5 separate regions of the Homo sapiens genome follow, and regions 1, 3, 4 and 5 are each linked to region 2. The links are contacts of gene promoters, found by promoter capture Hi-C in blood cells and fetal thymus (Javierre and others, 2016). All regions are on one chromosome and are shown on one strand. Each heading gives the region's core, a stretch centred on a gene start or on the middle of the fragment in contact. The rest is flanking DNA. Distances are from core to core; before and after follow the strand shown.

Evidence for each region. Contacts are between HindIII fragments. The CHiCAGO score rates a contact against its expected background, and 5 or more counts as called.
Region 1: a fragment that was not itself captured here is called in contact with the fragment with the promoter of ADAD2 in region 2 in 4 of 17 cell types (erythroblasts, megakaryocytes, endothelial precursors and 1 more); the score reaches 6.0 in erythroblasts.
Region 3: a contact is called between a fragment that was not itself captured here and the fragment with the promoter of ADAD2 in region 2, in 2 of 17 cell types (endothelial precursors and megakaryocytes). The highest score is 7.8, in endothelial precursors.
Region 4: a fragment that was not itself captured here is called in contact with the fragment with the promoter of ADAD2 in region 2 in 2 of 17 cell types (neutrophils and erythroblasts); the score reaches 8.2 in neutrophils.
Region 5: a contact is called between a fragment that was not itself captured here and the fragment with the promoter of ADAD2 in region 2, in 1 of 17 cell types (fetal thymus). The highest score is 5.9, in fetal thymus.

The regions. Positions count from the first base shown.
Region 1 is chr16:84,501,636-84,504,335 of GRCh38, reverse strand. The region is part of intron 1 of MEAK7 (MTOR associated protein MEAK7); the gene reads left to right. Among named protein-coding and RNA genes, the nearest start is that of MEAK7, 1.7 kb to the left of the region's middle. RefSeq lists an enhancer at 1-267. The HindIII fragment of the contact is 627 bases long and covers 1,104-1,730 here.
Region 2 is chr16:84,189,710-84,192,409 of GRCh38, reverse strand. ADAD2 (adenosine deaminase domain containing 2) reads right to left here and starts at 1,253. Exons shown (of 10, transcript NM_001145400.2): 1 at 762-1,253. The coding sequence starts at 1,179. RefSeq lists an enhancer at 1,213-1,507. The HindIII fragment of the contact is 4,803 bases long and covers 202-2,700 here.
Region 3 is chr16:84,466,753-84,469,452 of GRCh38, reverse strand. It overlaps ATP2C2-AS1 (ATP2C2 antisense RNA 1), which reads left to right and starts at 2,092. Exons shown (of 3, transcript NR_146503.1): 1 at 2,092-2,149. The HindIII fragment of the contact is 1,555 bases long and covers 672-2,226 here.
Region 4 is chr16:83,929,005-83,931,704 of GRCh38, reverse strand. It overlaps LOC105371372 (a long non-coding RNA gene), which reads left to right and starts at 496. Exons shown (of 2, transcript XR_007065147.1): 1 at 496-1,099; 2 at 1,602-2,700. The HindIII fragment of the contact is 4,069 bases long and covers 1-2,700 here.
Region 5 is chr16:84,606,745-84,609,444 of GRCh38, reverse strand. The region is part of intron 2 of COTL1 (coactosin like F-actin binding protein 1); the gene reads left to right. Among named protein-coding and RNA genes, the nearest start is that of COTL1, 10 kb to the left of the region's middle. RefSeq lists enhancers at 2,427-2,476, 2,677-2,700. The HindIII fragment of the contact is 4,371 bases long and covers 1-2,700 here.

The sequences.
Region 1 (2,700 bases), core at 168-2,667, 310 kb before region 2:
TAAGAGGGTGGCGAGGTGCTTCCCCCAGGGCCAAGGCCAGCCGTGTTGAAGGGGGATTCAGAGCCTGTGTAGACGCGGAAAGGGAGGGGTGCCTCCACGGAGGAGGCGAGTCTGGGGTAGACACTGAAGTGTGTGTGGAGGGGGTTTTCCTTCTTGTATTCTGACCACACCCATCTGGGCTTTTCCAGGACAGTGAGCTGATAACTGTTCCCAGGCCATGTAGGTGGCCAGCACAGGACAGGTCACCTTCTGGCCCACAGGAACTTCTTGCCCAGGCTCAAGCTGCCCCTTCGCACAAGGGCCTCTGGGCTCTGAGACACAGACAGGACTTCGAAGCCTGTCCAGATGAGGCAGTTGGAATCTCCCCAGCTTGTGGGGGTACGGAGGGACCCTTGTGTGGCTCTAGGGATGCGGGGCCCTTGGAGTAGAGAGTTGGAGCTTGGCAGCCAGGGTGGGAAGCAGCCATGTAACAGCCTGTTGGAGAAGCTCTGAGCAGGAGGTGACTAAGCCATTCCTAGGATACTAGTGGGAACCTTGGGGGCCATCCTGCAGACAATCGGTCCCTGTCCACCCCTCCATCACGGAGGCAGAGCAACCTTCCGTTTCTTCCAAGCAGGGCAGTTTCTCTTGTTCTAAGACAAGATCCCAAGGAGCCATTCTCTGTTGTCTTGGGCCCATTATTCTGTCTCTGACCTCCAGTAAGCAGATCAAATGCCCTGGGTTACCTTATTTAATCTTCTCAACCTTATGTTAAAGAAATTAATTAATGATGCTTATTAAAAGCACATTAATTATTGAAGACCATTGCAATGGGTATAGGGACCACAGCAATGGGATTTTGTAGTAAAGGAGAGAGATTGGGCTCAACTCTGATTATAGCATGGGCAAGTGGGAAGCCAGGAAGCAGGGTGGGGATCAGTGGATGGAAGATGACTGAGGAAACATCAGGGCGCTAGGGTGGATTCTGGGTAAGCTTACCTAGCAGTTTGTTACTGAAGGCAGGCCAGGGTGATCAGACATCACCTAGGGCAAGCTCGTCCAACCCGTGGGCCATATGTGGCCTAAGGCGGCTTTGAATGACATCCAACACAAATTCATAAGCTTTCTTAAAACATGAGATTTTTTTTTTACCATATATGTAGATATATGCACTTATCAGTTATTGTTAGTGGGTTTTATGTGTGGCCCAAGACAGTTCTTCCAGTGTGGCCCAGGGAAACTGAAAGATTGGATATCCCTAACCTAAGCATTAAACCTGGTTAGATAGCAAGTGAACAGATAATGGTGATCAAATATCAAGGATGAGTGGTTTTGTGGGTTTTTTTGTTTGTTTGTTTTTTGTTTTGCTAAAACCAGATTTTACAAAGAGGTACACAGATGGGCCCAGGAGCCTGACTAAAGTCTGGTCAAGCAAAACATCTTGGTCACTTATTATGGGCTGCTGGAACTTTTGTTTGTGTTTTTATGAGACAGAGTCTTGCTCTGTCACCCAGGCTGGAGTGCACTGTTGTGATCTTGGCTCACTGCGACCTCTGCCTCCTGGTTCAAGCGATCTTCCCACCTCAGCCTCCTGAATAGCTGGAACTATAGTCACACGCCACCACACCCGGCTGAGGTTTGTATTTTTGGCAGAGACGAAGTCTCACTATGTTGCCCAGGCTGGTCTCAAACTCCTGGCCTCAAATGATCCTCCCAAAGTTCTGGGATTATAGGCTTGATGATGGAAAGCTTTCAGTCCCTGGCAAGTTTTCTCGGTGTCATGGGACTTTCACAGTACACCTGGGTACATGGGGTGGCCTCTTCTCTGCAAAGCTGTGCATAACACAACCCTACATTGGCCTCGAGACTTCTGTGGGTTCCCTTGTATCAAGTTCCGCTTCCATTTTGTTCCGCTGCCCTACATCCTCAGAAGCCAGGTTTTCTCACCTTCAGCCCTACCGATGTCTGGGACGGACACTTCCTCGTCGTAAGGCCATCCTGTGCACTGTAGGATTTTTAGCAGTATCCCTGGCCTCTGCCTGCTAGATGCCAACGGCACTCCCCTCCCCCAGTTGTGGCAACCACACACTTTTCCAGTCATTGCCAAATGCCCCTGGGGGACGAAACTGCTCCAGTCGAGCTCCACTGGTACAAGCAACCTTGATGTGCGCTGTCAGCACCAGCACCAGCGTGCATTGTCTTTTTTTTTTTTGAGACCGAGTTTCACTCTTGTTGCCCAGGCTGGAGTGCAATGGCATGATCTTGGCTCATTGCAACCTCCGCCCCCTGGGTTCAAGCAATTCTCCTGCCTCAGCCTCTCAAGTAGCTGGGATTACAGGCATGCACCACCACACCCGGTTAATTTTGTATTTTTAGTAGAGACAGGGTTTCTCCATGTTGGTCCAGCTAGTCTCGAACTCCCGACCTCAGGAGATCCACCCGCCTCGGCCTCCCAAAGTGCTGGGATTACAGGCGTGAGCCACCACACCATTGCCATTTCTTTATCTTGCCTGGCACGGGGCTCTCAAAGGAGACGGGCTGTCCTTGAGCCGTTCTGAGACGTGTCCCTTCACCAGCACTCTGCAGGTACTAAGAATGGCAGTGCTGTGGACAGCGCTGTGTTCTTAGGGGCTGCCCACCTTCCCACCTCACTGGCACCAGCCCTGGGGTTCCTACTGGGGCCTCCCATGCAACCTCCTCTCTCCTGCTTGAAAAAGTGGC
Region 2 (2,700 bases), core at 4-2,503:
TGGAGGCCCAGGAGGTCAGATAGCTGGAGCCCAGGACTTCAAGAACAATCTTGGCAACATGGTAAAACCACATAATCTCTACAAAAAAAATACAAAAATTAGCCAGGTGTAGTGGAGTCCACCTGTAGTCCCAGCTCCTCGGGAGGCTGAGGCGGGAGTATCACTTGAGCCCAGGAGGCGGACGCTGCAGTGAGGCAAGCTTGTTCCACCGCATTCCAGTCTGGGCAACAGAGTAAGACCCTGTCTCAAAAAAAATCCAAAACACAAAACAACCACTCTGAGTTAAGGGATTTAAGGGGTATGTATTGAAGAAGAGGAAATAACGGTTTACCTCTGTATCATGTACACGGTATTACCCTTACCAAACTGTGCTTAATAATGTCTTTTAAGTCAGGGGAGTGGCTCCCATTTCGGTATCTCCAATGCTAGCACGGCAACTTAAATTGCATGTAAGTGGCTCTAAAAACGTATACAGAAATACCAGGGGGCCTTAACCTCCCTGGAAGTCAGGTGGGAAGAATGTTCACCTGCCATGACTCTTTCACAGTTGAGCATCTGGTGTGGCTGGTGATCCTTGGAGATCGCTGCTCACAGCAGGGTCCACCCCAAGGTCCCAAGCTCAGGCCAGGTCCTGCTCCGGCGGTGTCTCTGAGCATAGGGACCAAGGTCCACCTTCCCCAGACCCCCTGCTCCCCACGTCCTGGGACCCAGCCCTCCGTGGCTCTGCCCTCTGGCACAGCCATGCCCCGGCCCGGCCTCACCTGGTGGCTGGTCCTCCCGGAAGAGCAGGAAGATGCCCAGGCTGGCCGCGTACTCCGTGAGCAAGGACACGGCCTGGCTGGCAGGTGGGTCTTTGAGCGGCAGGCTGAGCCCTGCTGGGGGCACAGGGACCCTCGGGGCCTTCCCCATCTGTTCCCCCAAGTTTTCCCACGCCCGGGCTGCCCCCAGTTCCCCGACTCCGGCCCCTGCCCCAGGCCCACTGTCCCTCAACACCGAGACCTGGGGCCACCCGCCCTCCGCGCGATACGTCGCGGGCGCGGGCGCGGGCCCCCAGGCACTTTGGGCCTGGGCGGGTAGCGGTCGCCAGGGGCGGGGCTGGGGGCTGATCTGCAACGATGCAGCCAGGCGGGGCTTCCTACGACTGCCGTCGTCGTCAGCGCCCTGAGAAGCCGAAGCCATGGCCGCCAACGAAGATCTGAGGCGCTAGGCCCTATCTCGCGCTGCTCTCGCCCTTTCACACGCGCAGGGCGGGTGCCTTCACGTGGGGAGCACGCGGACGAAGCGTGGTGAGCTCCACCCCTGCCATACGATGGCCAATGAGAGCCCTGAGATCTGTGATGGACAGTGCACCCTGCCAATGGGAAGGCCAGTCTCCCAACGACGGCGGCTTGGATGCTTATGGCTGAGGCCAAGGTCCCACTGCCTGGACGGAAGTTCCGGCTGAGACCAACGTCCCATGGCCTGGAGGGAAGTTCCGGTGGGTGGGTGAGGGGTTGCTCTAGCAGCTGCTTCTTTAACCGTGGGTGGTCGCGGAGCCTGCAAGGCGGGGGAGGAGCATCTGGGGGCGTCAGGTCCAGTTTCACACTCTAGCTCCTGCCCTAGGCCCCTAGGCACCTCCACATCACAGGCTGCTCAGCTGCTTCACTGGCTGAGCCTGGAGACTTCAACACAGGAATTAGGGGTTCACACTGTCAGCAGGATCATTGGATATAAAATTTCACTGCAGGCCTTTCTGAAGCCAAACATAAGTGTTCCCCAGCCAAGAATTAGCCATTTGATGCAAAATGTAGGTGGGCGTGGTGGCGCACACCTGTAGTCCCAGCTACTCAGGAGGCTGAGGCAGGAGAATCGCTTGAACCTGGGAGGAAGAGGCTGCAGTGAACTGAGATTGCGCCACTGCACTCCAGCCTGGGCAACAGAGCGAGACTCTGCCTCAAAAAATAAATAAATAATTTTTTTTAAGAAAATAGCCATTTGATACTCTGCCTTTTTCCCCCCTAAGAAGGGATTTTGAGTTAATTCATACAAATAAGACAAGATAACAATTGTTTAAAGTGAAGAGCTAGAGATCAAGAGACATAGGAAAAATAAGATAAAGACAGGGATGAAGACAATTTACACAAGGCTTACTGTGATGCAACGCGTATTTGCTTGAAGGAGGCTGCAAGTTTAACGGAGTCTTACAGTAGCCACTAACTTGGGAAAGCATGACCAGTGTCTGTAAGATTTGTCACAGTGCTTGCTGCTGCTGCTGCTGAAGCTGGGCCTGGCAGCTCTCTCCAGGATTGTGACAGTGAGGATGCTGGGGCATATGAGGACCAGGTGGTGGAGTCCTCCCAGAACCTTTGACTTGGAAGAAGCAGGTGTGGTGGGCTGGGTAGTCAGCCTCCCCAACATGTCAAGAATTGACATCAGGAAGAACAATTCCATTTTGTGTGTGTGTGCAGCCCAGAGAGTGGGATGAGGCCCAGGAGAGTGAAGGGACAGCACAGCAGATGTCCAGAAATGGACTGAGGGCTGCACATATCCACAGAGAGACTTCCACAAAGTCATCAAACCCAGTAACGCCCCAAACGCTCACCAACAGGAGGTTGCGTGAACAAATCAATGGTATATTCATACAATGGAACACGACTCACTAATTTAAAAAGGAAACAACAGCTGCGTACACAACACAGGTGAATCTATTAGGCACATGGC
Region 3 (2,700 bases), core at 200-2,699, 280 kb before region 2:
CAATCCTCCCACCTCAGCCTCCCGAGTAGCTGGGACTACAGATGCACACCACCACTCCCAGCTAAATTTCGTGTTTTTTGTAGAGGTGGTTTCGCCATGTTGCCCAGGTTGGTCTCAAACCCCTGAGCTCAAGCAATCCACCCACCACAGCCTCCCAAAGTGCTGGGATTCCAGGCATGAACCACCGTTCCAGGCCTCTTACTGACCTCTTTTATCCAGTAGTTCTCCCCGCTTGAGCATGCATCAGATTTGCCTAGAGAGCTTCTTAAAATGCATATTGCAGGTCTGCATTCCTGCTTCTGATGATGTAGGTGAGGATGGGATTAACTCTTGACAACCTTATCCATTTCTTTTACCATTGGATTGTTTTAAATCTCTGCTGGAAGTCTTCAAATTACTTTATGTAATATTGACCCCAAAGTATTGAAACTCTTTTGTAGTTATGTTTTTTTTCCTTTTCTTGTGTTTTCATTTTCCTAGATTGGATTCAGTTACTAATTTTGCTTTTATATTATTCCTGCTTTTCTTCAGTTTTTTTTTTTCAGTTTTTTGAGTTATTTTACTAAATAAAAAATAATGGAAGTAGATGAATACATAAAGCTATTACTTTTTTCTTGGGCCCTGAGTTATTTTGCAGTATTGTATAGATAGGTGTGTGTTGATCATAAGCTTCTAGATTTTCTGTGGCCTTCATTTTGATTTTCTCTTGTACCCAAGAGTTTTTAAATTTTGCTGTGCTAGAGAATTTCCCCTAGTCCTGTCACTCGTCTTTAAATTAGATTGCATAGTGATTAGAGATGTCATCTGTATTATTATTTTTTTAAGACAGAGCCTCACTTCATTGCCCAGGCTGGAGTGCCATGGTGTGATCTCAGCTCACTGCTACCTCTGCCTCCCAGGTTCAAGCGATTCTCCTGCCTCAGCCTCCCGAGTAGCCTGGGATTACAGGCGCCCACCACCATGCCCAGCTAATTTTTGTATTTTTAGTAGAGATGGGGTTTCGCTATGTTGCCCAGGCTGGTCTCAAACTCCTTACCTCAAGTGATCCAACCGCCTCGGCCTCCCAAAGTTCTGGGATTACAGGTCTGAGCCACCATGCCCGACCAAGAAGTCATCTATATTAGATCTACTCTTTGGAATCACTGAGGTTTTGTGTCCTTTCATGTGGTAAGTTAATATAATGAATTTTCTGTATCCTTTGCCTGAATTTCCCATACTGTTTCCTCTTTAAATTTGAATGTTGTGTTGGTACATAGTCTGGCCTATGGATTTTTCAGTGGTGATTATATCTTGTTAAATTTCCTTCTTGGTCTCCTTTAATGCTTTTGGCCTTTCTTTTAATCTTGTCTGATTAGACTGTGTCACCTTGGTCTTGTGTGTTGTTTGTCTTTACCTGGTGTATTTTTGCCCTATGAGTATATCTTATCTTCTTACACACTTTGAAATAATTTTAGATTCATATAGACTTCCAAAAATTGTACAGGAGTTTCTGTCACTCCATGAGTGAGTGGATAAAGAAATTGTGGTACATCCATGCAGTGGAATACTAGTCAGCCATGAAGAAGAACACACATAAAACAACTTGAAGGGACCTTACAGGTATTATGCTTAGTGACAAAAGCCAGTCTTAAAAGGTTCTATACCATGATTCCATTTATGTAACAGTATTGAAGGAACAACATTATGGTGATGAAGAAGGGATTAGAGGTTGCTGGGATTAGGAGGGTGTTACTATAAAAAGTAAGGAGGAGTTTTTCAGGGGCGATGGAAGTTTTGCCTCCTCATTGTAGCAGTGGTTACCTGAATTGATGTGTGTCATACAATTTCATAGAACTTGTGTTGTGGGGGGCAGGAAACCACTCTCAGACCCAGTGATTGGCTAGAAAGACTCAGGACTCAGAAACTGTTGAGCTCAGAGGGAGAGGGTGACCAGTCTCTGCAGTTGCAGCCCTGGGGCTGTTCTAATCTGTATCTTTTCCTGGTAATAGACATGGCTGTGAGCATGACAGGTGTCAGTGAGCTCTGTGTGCCTCATCAACGAATCATCCAACCTGAAGGTGGTTGTGGGAAACTCTTGGACCTGCAGTCAGTATCAGAAGGCCTGGGCAGACTTGGCCAGCCACCTGGAGCACTGTGCCCTTAAACTCAGGTTTGCCTAACATCAGATACTATGTAAAAACCAGTGAAATTGAAATAGGTCTGCTGATAACAATATCATACCAAGCTTGTTAGAACAAGTTTATCTGTGTCTTAAAAAAAAACAAAAACAAAAAAACCCTGGGATTTTGATGGTAATTGTGTTAAACCTAATACAACAATCTCGGGAGAATTGATACTTTTTTTTGAGACAGACAAATAGTATTCAATTTTAAATTTCAGTTTCCAGTTGTTCATTGCTAATATATAGAAATACGACTGCTTTTTGTGTGTTAACCTTGTATCTTGTGGCTTTACTAAACTCGTTGATTCTACGAGGGTTTTTCTTTTTTAAAAAGATTTGTTGGGATTTTCTGTGTGGACAATTACGTTATCTGTGATTTTCTCCTTTCCAGGCTCTTTGCTAATGCCTTTTAACTTTTCTTGCCATATTACACTGGCTAGGACTTCTAATACTGTGCTGAATAGGAGTGGTGAGGCTGGTCACCCTTGGACCTTATCCTGTGGGGAAAGAATTCAGTTTTTCATCATTAAGTATGATGT
Region 4 (2,700 bases), core at 115-2,614, 260 kb after region 2:
TCACCTCCCAGGACCCCTGCGAGGAAGAGACCCGAGGAGCCATTTTACTGCCAGGGAGATGGCAGCTCACAGGTTATGGCACTGTCCCAAGATCACACGACGGGCAAGCAACAGCACCAGGTTCCCACCCAGGCCACCTGCACCCCAGAGTCCACAAGCTGAGCCTCCTGCCTCCAGGGCCACCGCCCAGGAGCCCCTCCTCCTGCCTGGCCCTACCAGGCCCCCCAGCACACCTCACCCCTTCCTGGAGCAGCCCCTGCCCCTCCCTGCTCCAGGCCCTCCTTACCTGACAACGAAGGGGCCGGGTGCAGCAGAGGTGACAGAGGTGACCAGTTTGGCCGGGGAGGAGTGGACACACTGGGGTTGGCCCTCCCCCAGGGGACACCCCCCCGACGTGGTAACAGGGGAGCTGGGGGACAAGAGGCCAGGCTGGGCCGTTTGTCGCATCACAAAGTCCTGCCCTGGGCTTGCTGGGGTGCCCGGTCAGTGGTGGGCAGCCTCAGGGTGGCTCTGCCTGAGGGCCCAGCCGGCCCCGCTCCCGTCCTCTGCTGCAGCTCCTCCGGAGCAACTGCAGCCTCGGTGATAGCACCTGGAAAAGGGGCACATCTTGCCAAGGTGTGCCCAAGGGGCAGGTTGGGTTGCTGTGATGATGGGTACACAGGGCCCTGCACACGGTAGGTGCTCAGTAAACAACTGCTGAAGGATGTGCCTTTCCCACGGTCACACGCAAGCAGGTGCTGGCGCAGGGCTCAAACCCAGACCAACCTCGGTGCCCACCCGGTGCCTCCTCCCAGGCAGCCCTGCTGGCTGTGAGGATGTGGGAGCCCTGGGGATGGAGGTTTCTACCAACCTCGGTGCCCTCCCTGTGCCTCCTCCCAGGTGGCCCTGCTGGCTGTGAGGATGTGGGAGCCCTGGGGATGGAGGTTTCTACCAACCTCGGTACCCTCCCTGTGCCTCCTCCCAGGCGGCCCTGCTGGCTGTGGGGACAGAGGTTTCTACTTGTCCTGCCTCCATCCCATTTCCCGTAAGGGAGGAAATTCTCCGTGGAACTCCCCTGCTGGACTGACACTCCTCCACCGCTCGACACATTCAGAATCAGGTCAGGGCTTGGTCAGCTCGGAGCCTTCCACCAGGAGAATGAGGCTCAGGAGGCTGCTGGCCTTGTGGGGAGCTCTGGGTGGGACCCTCCTTGAGGGGTGAGACCCCCTCACCACCATATTTCTGCCCATAATTCATTGTCTGCCCGTGGTTATTCTCCTAAGAGCTGCCCTTGCATGGGCAGCCGCTGCGAGGGAGGAGAAATGCACACCCGTCTGTCCACCGCTTCCTCTGGGCAGCGATGTCCACCCAGCACTGCTTCCCCACCCCCAGGGACACCTCCTACCCCTCCTCATGTGGACACCGGCACTTTGCCCCAGATCCCAGGGTGAATAGCGCTGCTGCTTAAGGACAGCACAGACCCTAGGAAGATAAGGCAGATGACATCAGAAATGTTCAGAGGGTCGTCCATGCCAGCTGTGGGAACAGCCCCGGGGCCAGGCCTGTGGGCACCTGGGCCTTTGCAGATCAGAAGGAGCAAGTGTCCTTCTGTGTTGATGCAGGCTTTCCAGTCGGAGCTGCAAAAGGAGACACAAAAATCACAGCTCATTCCAAGAGGTGCCTGCAGCCAGCAGCACCCAGCAGCATTGTCACCACTGCAAGCAGCCACTGACAGCCGACCTGAGAATGAACATGAGGGCCAGGGAGGAGGCAGCTCAGCCTGCAGCGTCAGCAGCGCAGTTCGGCAGAGCCTGCTAATCGTCTTGCTCAAGTTTCAAACTCTGTTTACCAAATGACCACAGAAGCGTTTTAACAACAAACACCTCATTTGAAGGCCAAGATGAAAAATTTTACATAAAAAATTAATTTTACTGGTTTACATTGTTTTTATACATTAAAATGAATACATTTACTTATTTTTTTGAGACAGGGTCTCATTCTGTCACCCAGGCTGGAGTGCAGTGGCACGATCATAGCTCACTGTCGACTCGACCACCTGGACCCAAGCAATCCTCCCACTTCAGCCTCCCAAGTAGCTGGGACTACAGGTGCTCACTGCCACATCTAGCTAATATTATTTTTATTTTTCGTAGAGATGGGGGTCTCGTTATGTTGCCCAGGCTGGTCTCCAGCTCCTGGGCTCAAGTGATCCTCCTGCTTTGGCCTCCCAAAGTGCTGGGATTAAGGCATGAGCCACCACGCCCAGCCAAAATGGACACATTTACTTATTGTAAATTTAGTAATGGCCACACAGCTCATAAGTGACGATGCCAGGCTCAGGACCCATCTCTGGGTCCTAATAAAATATTTTCTAGCCTCTGTCCTGTCTAACAATACAGTTGGAAAAAAACTGGGTACAGCTATGTTTTTATGTGCCTAAGGGTCAGCAAGATGTCAGAGATGACTGTGCATCGTATGGATGGGCTGGCACCGTCTGGATGAGTAACTGAATGCAGTCGAGTGAGATTCATAAATTACACCTGCACCATGGCAAGCTGGACTTTGTCAGGCAAGAGGCTCTTGGACTCCTGCTATCAGAGAGGAAGGACCAGACAATTCAATGACTGCACCTCTTGTCTCACCTCAGCTCTTCCACCTCTCAGACCCTGCCTCTACTCCAGTGCAATGTCTGTCTCTGTTGGTGATGCACAACCTACCTGC
Region 5 (2,700 bases), core at 45-2,544, 420 kb before region 2:
CTCCTGTCTCACAGCCCCATTTTCTGGCCTGCTATGCCTCCAGGAAGACTGACTGGCCTTAGTGCAGGCCTAGGGGATGCCTCTTGGAGGTGGCATCAGCCCTACCTGGATGACAGAGACTGAGAGTGGCAGAGAGGTGGTTCCTACGGAAAACTGGAGTATAGCGACCAAAAGAAGGGAGCTGGAATGCGAAGGAGTCAAATTCACTTGCTGTCCATGACCTCTGCGTATATGGCAATACAACACACAGAGAGCCGGCAGTCTATTTATCGTGCTGTTTTGCACCTGAATATTTTTTCCCTAGCTGAACATACACACCCGGGTTTCAGAAATTTGGGCGAGAAGGGAAGGAGAGAAATTGCTTTCTTTCCTAAGGTCTAAGGGAATGTGACATCAAAAAGAAGCTCCAAATCTGTGACAGGGCTTTGGGCAGTTATAAAGTGCTGAACAGTCTGTCCGTTAATGCATGCGACAAACATTTTATTGGGTTCCTACTTTGCTCCAGAAACAATGTTGGGTTTTTAATTTAATTTAATTTTTGAGACAAGGTCGTGCCCTGTCACCCAGTCTGGAGTGCAGTGGCACGATCTTGGCTCACTGCAACCTCTGCCTCCCAGCTCAGGCGATTCTCCTACCTCAGCGTCTCCAGTAGCAGGGACTACAGGCGCCTGCTACCACGCCTGGCTCATTTTTGTATCTTTTGTAGAGACAGGGTTTCACTATGTTGTCCAGGCAGGTCTCGAACTCCTGGGCTCAAGCGATCCACTTGCCTTGGCCTCTCAAAGTGTTGGAATTACAGGCGTGAGCCACCCCGCCCGGCTGGGTTTTTGTTTTTAAGTGGTACCCTGAAGGGCTGCGAAAACATTACCTTTGTAATTTTCTGCACTATCCAGTCTCCCATTGCCTTCTTTGCCCACAGATCTGTTGCTGGGAGGCCCTGAGCCACGCTGCATAGCTTTTTTGTGTGTCCACAGGGGCGTGGGCTTTGTGGTAGCTCTTTCAGTCTACTGCATGGTGATGTTTGTGCTTTCTTTTCTGTTTGTGGCTGTGTCACCACAAACAGAAAATGATGAAGGATGATAGATGTGTATCTTCCTGGTAAGTACAGTGTCTCAAGTTCAAAAAAAGCATTCCCTAAACACTAGGTGAATTGGGTTTTTGTCCCTTGAAAATATTCAGAAGTTAATGCAAACTTTTTGAAAGCATCCCTTACAGATTTTATAGGTGTTATAAATACCTCCTTGTCTCCCATCCTTTCTTTACCCCATTTCATTCTGGTGCCCACCCACACCCAGAGCATGGAGCTCTATGTCTAGGTCTTTGGTAAATATTCCAGTTGCCAGATTTAGTGGTCATTTCTTTGTCTCTGATCCACTTTACCTCCCTCCAGCATTTGCCAGTGGCCAGCACCTCCTGAAAAGATAGTCCCCCTCGCTTGTGCTTCTGCTTCTGCGTGGCTAGACTTGCCTAGTTCTCCTTTTATGTCTCTCTCCTGTCATTCTCACTTCCTTCTGCTGCTGCTTCTGCTTCCTGCCCGATAAGTCTAGGCGTTTCTTAGGGCTCCACCCTTGATCATGACCTTGTCTTCTCCGGGACATTTCTCGAGCATCTACTATGCCCCAAGCCCTTTGCCAAGTACTGAGTTGAGTCCTTTCCCTGACCCCAGTGAGCTTGCAGTCCAGGCTAGGGGTGGCTTTCTAACCTTCAGGTCAGATTGCTCCCCCGCCTCCCACTTCCAACACCTTTTCTCCATAAGGTCCAAACGCTCAGACATGACATGGGGTGCCCTTTATGACAGGTGCTGGCCAGCCGACCCCTCCAGTGTGTGTCCCCAACACACACGATGCTGACCTTAGGGATGCCCAAGTCCCAGGCCCTACGTAGGAGCTCTGCGTGTGTTAGTTTATCTAATTTATCTTCTCTCTGAGGGAGTAATGAGCAGAGTGACACCCACAAGTAGAAATTATCCCCACTTCACTGAGGAGGAACCTGACATTTTCCTTGGAGAGCCAGAGTCGCTTGCTGGAGATGCTGCAGTTGGGAAGAACTGCACTTTGAATCCAGATCTGTGTCCGAGGCTCTCAGCTCTTCCCCTGTGCCGCGCTGGCCTGCCTTCCCGCTTCCCTAGGCCTGTGGACTCTCTTCCCTCTGCCTGCACTGTCTTCATCTGTTTCGCCTTCCTGGAGGACTCCTACACACCCGTCAAGGCCCGGTGTGAATGTTCCCTCTGCTCGGATGCCCTCCTTGTCTTTGTGGTGTTGGTGTCCCGTATGGTGGTCGTGTGCATGTCTGTTTCTTCAACTCCTTGGCGAAGTCCTCCTGGAGAGAGGGACTTTGTCCCTTTGGTGGTGGTATCCTTGGCGGGGAATCCCCATCCTTCATGGTTAGATGGCTGCCAATCTCTTTCCCCCATGGGTGTGTTGCTCCCTTGAGTGGGCCCAAGTCATGGGCTGAATCCTGGGTCATAGGCTTTTCCCAGCACGTGCTGGCTGTCCACTCCTTTGTCTCTTGCTTATAGAAGAGAACCCGTAATGCCTGGGTTCAAATTTCAGCTCTACTTCTTATGGGCTGTAGGCGCCTGGGACAGAATCCTACAGTTACTGCTGTGGGCACCTGGGACAGAATCCCTCAGGGACCCTAAGAGGAACATGGAGGGTGCAGCCCTGGGAGGCGGGGGCACGTAGCCACCGACTCTTATCC